Regions from separate parts of the Homo sapiens genome. Here regions 1 and 2 are each linked to region 3. Evidence: promoter capture Hi-C in human tissues and cell types (Jung and others, 2019). All regions are on one chromosome and are shown on one strand. Each heading gives the region's core, a stretch centred on a gene start or on the middle of the fragment in contact. The rest is flanking DNA. Distances are from core to core; before and after follow the strand shown.

Region 1 (3,557 bases), core at 280-2,779, 410 kb before region 3:
CCTTCGACCTGGATTCGAGCCCCCACGATGGACGCCACTTGCAGAGACCAGCTCGGTCAGGAAGACCCTAACCCAGCGGCACTAGAGGAATTAAAGACACATACACAGAAATACAGAGGTGTGAAGTGGGAAATCAGGGGTCTCACAGCCTTCAGAGCTGACAGCCCCGAACAGAGATTTACCCACATATTTAGTAACAGCAAACCAGTCATTAGCATTGTTTCTATTAACTAAAAGTATCCCTTACGGGAAATGAAGGGATGGGCCGGAATAAAGGGGTGGGTTTGGCTAGTTATCTGCAGCAGGAGCATGCCCTGATGGCACAGATCGCTCATGCTATGTTTGTGGTTTGAGAACGTCTTTCAGCGGTTTTCCACCCTGGGCGGGTCAGGTGTTCCTTGCCCTCATTCCGGTAAACCCACAACCTTCCAGCGTGGGCGTTAGGGCCATTATGAACATGTCACAGTGCTGCAGAGATTTTGTTTATGGCCAGTTTTGTGGCCAGTTTATGGCCAGATTTTGGGGGGCCTGTTCCCAACAGTAACCAATATTAAGTCATTCTCATTTCAACATTTAAACTCTTCCAACTGAATGCATTAAAAAACAAAAGTCACACACCACTGTACCCCTTATATGTACACAGCGGTCGGCAAACATGTGACAGGTGGAGGTCCTGAGGCACCACTGGGAGCTTGTGAGCGGATGGGCGTCTTCCAGAACGCACTCTGCAGGCACTCGGCAACGTGAAGTGTTCACGTCCTGTGATGCAGCCTCTGCTCCAGGCCACTTCCGGAACTGCGAGGGAACAGCTGTGGGCGCGCTCATTTCAGCTTTGCTTCAGATCCTGGGAGTTGGGGGCACCTTCTTTTTTTTTTTTTTTTTTTTTAGACGGAGTCTTGCTCTGTCACCCAGGCTGGAGTGCAGTGGCGCGATCTCGGCTCACTGCAAGCTCCGCCTCCCGGGTTCACGCCATTCTCCTGCCTCAGCCTCCCGAGTAGCTGGGACTACAGGCGCCCGCCACCGTGCCTGGCTAATTTTTTGTATTTTTAGTACAGACGGGGTTTCACCATGTTAGCCAGGATGGTCTCGATCTCCTGACCTCGTGATCCGCCCATCTCGGCCTCCCATAAAGTGCTGGGATTACAGGCATGAGCCACCGCGCCCGGCTGGGGGCACCTTCTGGCCCACAGTGAGGGAATAAGCAAACCAGAATGGGGGGTGCCTGCACGGAATACTCCTAAGTGCTCAGACACGGCGTCCACAGATGGATCCAAATCAGTGCTGGATGACGGGCACTCACCCCAGGTCTGCAGTCCAATAACACGGGCCTGAGCAGAAAGCACGTGGCATGGAGCCCCGTGGCAGATATGGGGACGAGCGGCCAATACATCAGCTCAGGTGTCCGAGGGGTTTCAGGGACATGAGAGAGAGTGGGGAACGAAGGGGGAAATCGCTTGGAGACCCAGGACGAGCCTGGCACACCAGGATGCTGATTCTGAAAGGGCGATTAAGGAGATTCCATGTTTTAAAAATCTGGATTTCTGGCTTCTTCTGAAAAAAATCAGAAGATGTTTAGCACAACAGCGTGGCATCGTCAGCTGTACTCCTGCCCCACTGTCCCCCAGGGAGCCTGGCTCATCCCATGGCTCACAGAGGCCCACACTGTGGCCAGACAGGTCCACTGATGGCTCAGCACGTGCACCCCGGCTGCAGGGAGATGGGTACCAGCCCAGGAAGTGGGACACTGGCTGAAACAGGATGGGATGCAGGGATGGGGTGGGATGGGAGACCAAACCAGTGTGAGGAATGAGGATAAAGGAGATGCTGGAGATAAAATCTGGGCAAGTAAGCAGGGGGTGGTCCTGCTGGCTGAGGCCAGAGATGCCAGCCCACTCAGACTCCTGCGCTGGCCCTTCCACACCATCCCAGGCCCAAGGCCTCCCACACACAGCGTCACATACACAAACAGCACCCTCCTCATGGCAACAGGTGACCCTGCCCCTTCACAGACCTCCCTGCCCCCACAGTCACCCCACATTTTAAAGGGAACTTGAGTCCATCCTGATATGTAAACGTGAGGTTAAATATCTATCATGGGGGAGAACAGACAAATCTCCAGTGCAGAATAGTTCTAAATAACCTAAGTGGAGGCTCCACTCTTGAGGAGATCCAGCCTAACTCCCCACCTCTCCAACGCGGCTCATCGCAGCGACCTCCTTCTTCCAACGTGGCTCATCGCAGTGACCTCCTTCTCAGGAGTGCAGAGTGGAGGTCAGTGGTGGAGTGAAGACGGACCAGGGTTAACATCGGCAGTGATCACTTGACCTCTGCACACTTGACTCTGGGTCTTTCTCCCCAAAAAAAACCAGAACCTCAGTATAATCGTGAGGAAAATAGACAAATCCTAATTGAGGGACATTCTCCAAAATACCTGACTGGCCCTCCTCAAAACTGCCAAGGTCATGGAAAAAGGAAAGTCTGAAAAACTCACAGTTTAGGAACCTAAAGAGACTTGATTACTAAATGGAATATATCCTGGGATCCTGGAAAAGAAAAGGACATTATGTAAAAACTAAGAAAACCTGAATAAAATGTGGCCTTTAGTTAATAAGAATCCATCAATATTGGTGCATTCGTTGTAACAAGTAGTTGTAACAAGTGCCACGCTAATGTAACACGTTAGTACCAGCGTAACTGGGTGCCAGGCGTTTGTAAACTCTGTTCCGTCTTCTCAATTGTTTTGTGAATCTAAAACCGTTCTTTAAAAAGAGTTTATTTAGTAGGCTGGGCATGGTGGCTCACACCTGCAATCCCAGCACTTGGGAAGGCCAAGACTGGTGGATCACTTGAGCTCAGGAGTTGGAGACATGCCTAGGTAACATGGCAAAACCCCATCTCTACTAAAAATACAAAAATTAGCCAGGTGTGGTGGCGCACACCTGTAGTCGCAGCCACTTGGGAGGTTGAGGTGGGAGGATCGCTGGAGCCTCGGAGGTCGAGGTGGTAGTGAGCCAAGATTGCACCACTGCACTCCAGCCCGGGCAACCAGAGTGAAACGCTGTGTCCAAAAAATAAAAAAAGAGTGTATGTAAAGTGAAAACAGAGAGAGTACAAGAAAAGAGGGAAACCAGGGGCTCAGTGGAGGTGGGCAGGGGCTGGTCCATGTGCATTCAGCCCACCTGGTTGGCAGCTGCCCAGGTGTCTCCTCAGGTGTCGGAACAGGAGTTTCTTCCACAGCCTTCAGTTTGCTCAGGTGGGCATGTGGCGATGGCAGACCCTTGGGCTGTGAGAAACTATGTTGCTGTTTTATCCAAGTCTTCACAGACCAAAGACGGGGCTTTGCCCAGAGGAGGCCTTGAGAAGCCAGGCTGGAGTTTGTGGAGAGAGTGTGTGTCACTCACAGGACATATGACGCATTTGCAACATGCGTTCTCAAAGTGGGAGCCACAGCAGTGTTCGTTTTACTATTGCTGGGCCTGTAAATGGAGCGTTTTATCTTTTTCGTCAGCTGGTTCATTGAACAAGTGTTTACAGAGCACCTGCTAGGCAAATCCATC
Region 2 (3,460 bases), core at 489-2,988, 270 kb after region 3:
CTAAAAATACAAAAAAAGCCGGGCGCAGTGGCTCACGCCTGTAATCCCAGCACTTTGGGAGGCCGAGCGGGCAGATCACGAGGTCATAAGATCAAGACCATCCTGGCTAAGATGATGAAACTCCGTCTCTACTAAAAATACAAAAAAAAAAAAAAATTAGCCGTGCCTGGTGGCCGGTGCCTGTAGTCCCAGCTACTCGGGAGGCTGAGGCAGGAGAATAGCTCGATCTCGGGAGGCACAAGTTGCAGTGAGCCGAGATCGCGCTACTGCACTCCAGTTTGGGCGACAGAGCAAGACTCTGTCTCAAAAAAAAAAAAAAAAAAAAAAAAAAAGAAAGAAAAGAATAAAGAGAAAGAATCAGCAGATCATGAACACTTGACACTGATTTTTGGGGGGTGTTTTTTGGTCTCCAACTCCTGACTTCAGGTGATCCGCGTGCGTCGGCCTCCCAAAGTGCGGGGACTACACGCGTGAGCCACCGTGCCTGGCCCACGTGACACTGTTAAAAACGGAAAAAAAAGGGGGACTGTTAATTTTCCCAAGTTGCTCAGGAAAGTTATAGCTGGACTGCGAGAAGAGAAGCGAAACACTGTTTTCATTTAAAGTTCACGTAGGTAACTTTGGAGGTAAAAAAGCCATTTCAACTTTCTTACTATCAAAGTTGACACATACCAAATTTTAACTGTAAGTCAAGTGGTCAGTTTCTCAGTTTGCTATGTGACTGAACAAAAAACTTGTTATCAAGCAGGAATAAACTTTCATTAGACATACGCTACGCAAGAGTCACAGGCGGCCAGTTAGCAGGGAATATAAACTAGCAGAGCCAAACCAAGTCCACGTTGTATTCCAGAAACTACCGGTTGGAGGCGTTCCAGGGAGGAAGAGAGGATCTTTCGCAAAAAAAAAAAAAGAAGAAGAAGTAGCAAACACACAAATCCATGGCATTAAAAAAAGAGACCGCTTTGTTATTTACAACATCGTGGTATGCCGTGATTGTGTTGCGCGCCGTTTCCAGGGAAGGTGGCCAACGACGCACACGAAATACCATGATCGGCCGCCGCCGCGCAGCCCCTCGCCGCGGACGCTACCCTCGCCCCCCGGGCCCGGCCTCGGAGAGCTCGAAGGACCACCGGACAGCGGGCGCCTCGTCCCGGAACCTGCCTTCCCTGTGATGCCCACCCGCGTGTGGACTACGCGCGCTGCCGTCCAGCTGCCATCCCAACCAGCCGACCCACGAGCGCGGCCCGGCCCGGCTTCCTCTCAGGGGTCCTGGCGCGGGCCAGGGGGAACCGGGGAGGAGGGAGGGCCGGTCGCCGGAGCAGAGCGCGCGGGGACAGGGTGGAGCCCAACTACCTGAGGATGTTGTGCGCCTCCATGCTCCGGTTCTGGTTGCTCGAGCACACCACCGCCACCCGCAGCGGGGACGACGGCATGGCGGCGGCCGCAAATCCCGCGGCTCTCCCGCTTGGGTTCCCACCCTACCGCGGCGCTTCCGCGCGAACAAAATGGCGGCCGCGGTGGCCGGAAGCGGGCGACGCGAAACGACGGCGCCGGCGGTGTAGCGTGCGGCGACTGCGCGGCGGCCTCCCCGCCCACCCTGGGCGCCGGGCCGCGGACGGAGCGCAGGCACTGGCCTTCGGGCGCGCTGCACTCGGCGAGGCCGGGGGCGGCCAACGCCGCGCCGGCCCCCGGCGTCCGCAGCAGAGACCCGCACTCCACAAGGCCCGGCTGAGCGTCACGGCGCCAAGCGGCGGCGTCCTGACATCAGCACCCCGCGCCGGCGCCTAGTGTGACGCGACGACGTGCGGAACAACAGGACGTCATAAGGTGTCGCCGCCGCCTTTGGGAGCGATGCGAAACGCCGCGCTTGCCGGAGATAGCATTGAGGGCCCTTCCGCGGCCCGGCGTTTCGTCTCTTGGGACGATTTTGTGCGTTCCCTCGGTCCCCGTGGGGCCCATAGTCCTCACTTCTGCCACCCCAGAGTCGTCGCGCTTCACTAGACCCGCTCCCTCCACTGTCCCGGAGGCCCACAGACATTCCCGCATTCTGAGGCTCGCTCCCGTCCCGTGCCGCTGTTACCGGCCTCCGGCCCCGGCTCATACAAGCAGGAGCACATCGCTCTTTTATGAAAGCCCTTCAACATTTAACGTTTAAATGCGAGGGCCGACCTGTGACAGACCTGGTTGGGAGTGCACGTCGACTAGGATCTTCCTCGCCTCGGGCTTCCTTGGAGAGGCCGCCGGCTGGTCTGAGATTTGGGTCCAGTTACAGTAAATCCAGTCAACGCGAGTGTGTCATTCCCCAGCTATGCCTGTCTGCCTGGATGCAGCCTCGCGGTGGACAGTGGGCTGATGTTTTGCCGTGGGAGCGCCACGGACGGGAGAGGGAGTGATAATGATTGTCAACCTAATAACAGGCTAACTGAAAATGATATTTATTTGGGAATAGGGCGTTGGCGAATATGCGTGCCATAGTAAACGATTTGCGCATTCAGGAAAGTAATGGTTTTTAAAGAAAAAATGAAGAGGAAGATAATGGTTTGGAAATAATTAACCTTGGCTACAAAGAACAGTAACAAGTGTACTCCCGGCCGGGCGCGGTGGCTCACGCCTGTAATCCCAGCACTTTGGGAGGCCGAGGCGGGCGGATCACGAGGTCGGGAGATCCAGACCGTCCTGCCTAACCCGGTGAAACCCCGTCTCTACTAAAAATACAAAAAATTAGCCGGGCGTGGTGGCGGGCGCCTGTAGTCCCAGCTACTCGGGAGGCTGAGGCAGGAGAATGGCGTGAACCCGGGAGGCGGAGCTTGTAGTGAGCCGAGATCGCGCCACTGCCCTCCAGCCTGGGCGACAGAGCCAGACTCCGTCTAAAAAAAAAAAAAAACAAGTGTACTCCCGTTCCAGGGTTGGACAGGCAGTTGCTGGGCAGCTGTCCTTGCTGAAGTATTTTTTGTGTAAGATTGCCTTAGTGCAAGGTTGTGGTTTTTGCAGAATCTTGTGATAGTTTTTCTTATTATTGATTCATGAGAATTCTCCATGGCCTTTCCCAGCTGTCTTTGTCAAGGTATTTTTTAAACATAAGTGAGTCCACTTTTATTTGACAACTTGGGTATTTTCCCCTTTTGATTGAGATCTTTCTCCAAATGCATCACTAATGAGTCATCCTGTAATTAGGTTTTGATAGTCCCCGTGCTGGGATGAACTTGTCCCAGATAGCTGGTCTGGTCCCACACTGGAGAGAGTGGCTGCTGGGAGTCATTGTCAAAACCCTTTTTTACCATATTTGAGCATCAAAGGAGGTTTGAAGGGTGTGGCTCTCAGGCTAAGTCTAACCTGGAGTCCATTATTAACTTCAACTTTTGTCACTTCTGTAGTCTTTCTATCATCTCAAAGTGCTGTGTCAGCATTATTCTGTTAGAAATTGTACTTGTAGCCGGGCGCGGTGGCTCACGTCCGTAAT
Region 3 (3,668 bases), core at 759-3,258:
ACGTTACAGACCACATCTTCCCGCCCACCCTGCCTGGCCCCCCAACCTGGCGGTAGGCCAGGAAACTCAAGTTACGCCCTTAGGGCCTGCCCCCAGGACAGCCTCAGGGAGCCCCTCGAACCCCAGTTAAATCACAGCCTAACCCCAAAACCCACTGGGCCAGGCCATTCTCATCTCCCCACTCCAGTCCATGCCCCACAGGGGTGAGGCACTTTCCCAGGGCAGTCACTCTACGGCACCTACTGCAGCCCCACAGCCCCCATAACTGGCTCCTGTAACAGGCTCCCATGAGAGCCGGTTACCAGAGAGAAGGCCCAGAGGTGAGTGGGTTCCAGCACCCCCACACGACTGGAAGAGGGCAGTACAGGGCCGTCTGCGTGGAGGAGGAGGTCCATTAGGCTTCTGACGGAGGGGCCAGGGAGAAGGTGGGTGCTTCAGCCAGGGTCCAGCCCCCAGCAGGGAGGCCATGCCCACACCTCCCCACAGCCCGGGTCCTCAATGCAGGATCCTAGGGTGCTCAAGTTATTCAACCCCTTTTCCCAGGTCAGCAACAGAAGATGGGAGAGCAGAGGATGGCCCCAGTTCCTCTGCCCAGGGCTGGCGGCCACTCTCCTGGCTGGCCCTGAGCCTCCCACTCCAAGGCTCCTGAGCCTCCTGGTGAGGGCTCCAGGGATACAGAGGCTCCCCGTGCCTCCACACACATGCTGACTTGCCAGCAGATCCCAAGAGACCCAGCGCGCGCGTGCACACCCACACATACACAATCAAGCACACATGTGCAAACATGTTCATGCACAAACATGCCTGCACACACTGGTACCACACATACATGTGTGTTCAAGGAGACACTGCACAGACACGCATCAACATGTGTACCTAGTGATGGAACACGCGTGTACAAGGTGATGTGTCTATTGCTGACATGGCTAACACAGTACGTGAACCCACACAGACAGGTGGTGTGTGCACACGCTTGCGTGCACTCATCGGCAGGCTACATGCAGAAGCAAGCACAGCCCCGTGGCACAGCTCATCCACACGTCCTGTGCAAGGCCTGGTGTCCGGAGGGAGGCACGCAGAGGGGCAAAGTTCACAAGAGCGCACCCCGCACGAGCTCGTGCAGAGGAGGGGGCCTCACGCAGGTGCGCACTTGGGGATGCAGAGAGGTTTCTTTGCCTCCATTGTCGTTTGCCAAATGTCCACCAAGCAAAGCCGATGCACACTTGTGCACACGTCTGTGAACATGTAGTTCACGCAGGTGTACACGCCTGCACGCCACGAATGATGGAAAACATGCAGACTCGGTGTGCACACAACCCCTACCCCCTACCTGACCTTCCCCGCCGCTCTTCTCGGCCGCCACCCCTCCAAGCCCCTGGGTCATTCAAACCACTTCACGTTTCCAAGCACCCTACCCCAGGCCTTAAACGCGGCTCCAGCTGCCTGTTCCCCACGCGCTGCTCTGGACACAGGATCAAGTCAGAGACCAGGGGCCGACGCCCCCACGGACCCAGACGACCCTGGCCAGAGCTGGACTGCAGGGCCCGGGAGGGGCTCAGCCCAGTGGAGGTGCAGACACAGAGCGGGGGCGGACGGTCCCGAGGTGCCCACGGCTGCCCACGCGCACGCCCTCCACCCGGGGCGGCCGCACAGGGCAGGAGCGTCTTTTGTTCCAACCCCCGGGGCATGGCGGGGCGGGGCCGCCGCTTTGTCCGAGGCCGGTCCTCCAGCCCCTCCCCGGCGGCCGCGGCCCGGCCCGGCGCTGACCTCCCCACCCCGCCGCCGGGCACAAAGGCGACAGCGACGCCCCCGGCCTGCGCCCACCCCGGCGGCCCCGGGCGGCGCACCTGAAGCGCGGGGAGTCCTTGACGCACTCCTCGAACTCCACGGTCATGGCTGCGGCGGCCGCGGCGCTCACTGGCACGAGGACCGCGGCGCCGAGCGGCAGCCGCGCCGGCCCGGACCGCTCGTCCCGCCCGCGCCGCCTCGGCGCCCGCCCGCCCCGGAATGAGGCCGCCGCGCCGCGCCCCGCCCCGCCTGTCACCGCCGGGGAGCGTCGCCAAAGTCAGCCGCCCGCGCGCACCGCCCGCTGTCACTGCCGGGGAGCGTCGCCAAGGTCCGCCGCCCGCGCGCGCCGCCCGCTGTCACCGCCGGGGAGCGTCGCCAAACGCCTCTCGCAGCGTCCAGGGACCACCCCGGTCCGGAAGTGAGGCGGGGCCTGCCACGGCCGTCTCCGGGGACAGTCGGTGGAAATGTGGGGCGCGGGGAGGGCGCGGGGAGGGCGCGGGCCCGCCCGCTCCAACCATCCCGGCCGTTGCGCAACTCAGGGCGTTTGCAAAAACCACGTCTGGGAGGACTTGGCCGCAACGCGGCGAACGGGCGCGCTCGGGGAGTGTGGGCGGCGGCGAATGAATGAGCGAGTGAACGAATGCACGCCCGCGAGAGCGCGGGGTGACCGCGTGGTTGGTGCGCGCCTCCCGGGGCGCCGCGATAGAGGTAGAGCGCCTGCGCTCGGCGGCGGGCCGGCACTTTGCAGCCGCTCCCTAAGCCCGGCCCCGCCTCCGCTCCCCGACTCTGGCCGCCGTGGCGCGGTGCCACCGCGCAGGCGCAAGAGCGGCCGGGGCCGGGGGGGAGGGGGGGGGGGCGTGACCAGGCCGCGTCCGCGCGCGCGCAGGATTCCTGCGCTGGAGGCCGCCTCTGACGCCACCGGCTGGGCTCCGCCATGAGTTCGGCGCCGGCCTCAGGCTCCGTGCGCGCGCGCTATCTTGTGTACTTCCAGTACGTGGGCACCGACTTTAAGTAGGTTTCCCAGGCGCAGCGGCGGGCGCCACGTGGGCCCGGGCGGAGGCGGGAAGGAGGGCGCGGGCGGGCAGGCGGATGTCTCTGGACGCGGGTTCCAAACGTTCGGGGAAGGAAGCGGCCCTGGCCTCAGACGGCGGCGGAGACCCCAGGGCAGGGCGCCCCCGGTAACCTCCGCCCGCTTCTGCCCGCAGCGGGGTCGCGGCCGTCAGGGGCACTCAGCGCGCCGTCGGGGTCCAGAACTACCTGGAGGTGCGCTCAGCCGGTCACGGGACGCCCGGTGAGGGGTAAGGGGGAGGCTCCCGCCCGCGCGTCCCCGGGGTCCGGCCTCGCTCACCCGCCCGCCCCGCGGCTCGGTCCTGCAGGAGGCCGCCGAGCGGCTGAATTCCGTGGAGCCGGTCAGGTTCACCATCTCCAGCCGCACGGACGCCGGGGTCCACGCCCTGAGCAACGCGGCGCACCTGGACGTCCAGCGCCGCTCAGGCCGGCCGCCCTTCCCGCCCGAGGTCCTGGCCGAGGCCCTCAACACACACCTGCGGCACCCGGCCATCAGGTGAGCCCGCGACCTAAGCAGCCCTGGGGCTGTGCCTTCCCGACTCCATCTGTCGCGGGCGGAGGCTGGAGATCTGGACAGACTTCCTTGTCTGGTCGGAGCTCGAGGGGGAAGGAGAGCCAATGTGACACCGCGGGCGGGCGGGGTCGTTCCTCCGGTGAGCTTTACCTGCCGCCATAGGGTCCTGCGGGCCTTCCGAGTGCCCAGCGACTTCCACGCTCGTCACGCAGCCACGTCCCGGACCTACCTGTACCGCCTGGCCACTGGCTGTCACCGGCGTGATGAGCTGCCGGTGTTTGAACGCAACCTATGCTGG

What was found. Contacts are between HindIII fragments. The study calls those that stand out against the background at their distance.
Region 1: a contact is called between a fragment that was not itself captured here and the fragment with the promoter of ACAP3 in region 3, in 1 of the 25 tissues and cell types used here (lymphoblastoid cells).
Region 2: a contact is called between the fragment with the promoter of SSU72 here and the fragment with the promoter of ACAP3 in region 3, in 1 of the 25 tissues and cell types used here (dorsolateral prefrontal cortex).

What each region holds. Positions count from the first base shown.
Region 1 is chr1:898,160-901,716 of GRCh38, forward strand. No RefSeq gene overlaps it. Among named protein-coding and RNA genes, the nearest start is that of LINC02593, 20 kb to the right of the region's middle. The HindIII fragment of the contact is 9,929 bases long and covers 1-3,557 here.
Region 2 is chr1:1,573,125-1,576,584 of GRCh38, forward strand. SSU72 (SSU72 homolog, RNA polymerase II CTD phosphatase) reads right to left here and starts at 1,739. Exons shown (of 5, transcript NM_014188.3): 1 at 1,354-1,739. The coding sequence starts at 1,433. SSU72-AS1 (SSU72 antisense RNA 1) reads left to right here and starts at 1,823. Exons shown (of 1, transcript NR_197593.1): 1 at 1,823-3,460. RefSeq lists silencers at 1,223-1,302, 1,543-1,702, 3,362-3,460 and enhancers at 1,823-1,932, 1,943-2,012. The HindIII fragment of the contact is 14,967 bases long and covers 1-3,460 here.
Region 3 is chr1:1,305,922-1,309,589 of GRCh38, forward strand. ACAP3 (ArfGAP with coiled-coil, ankyrin repeat and PH domains 3) reads right to left here and starts at 2,009. Exons shown (of 24, transcript NM_030649.3): 1 at 1,848-2,009. The coding sequence starts at 1,894. It overlaps PUSL1 (pseudouridine synthase like 1), which reads left to right and starts at 2,676. Exons shown (of 8, transcript NM_153339.3): 1 at 2,676-2,799; 2 at 2,994-3,051; 3 at 3,165-3,352; 4 at 3,533-3,668. The coding sequence starts at 2,723. RefSeq lists silencers at 1,558-1,777, 1,828-1,997, 2,038-2,717, 2,938-3,007, 3,038-3,177 and 2 more. The HindIII fragment of the contact is 50,978 bases long and covers 1-3,668 here.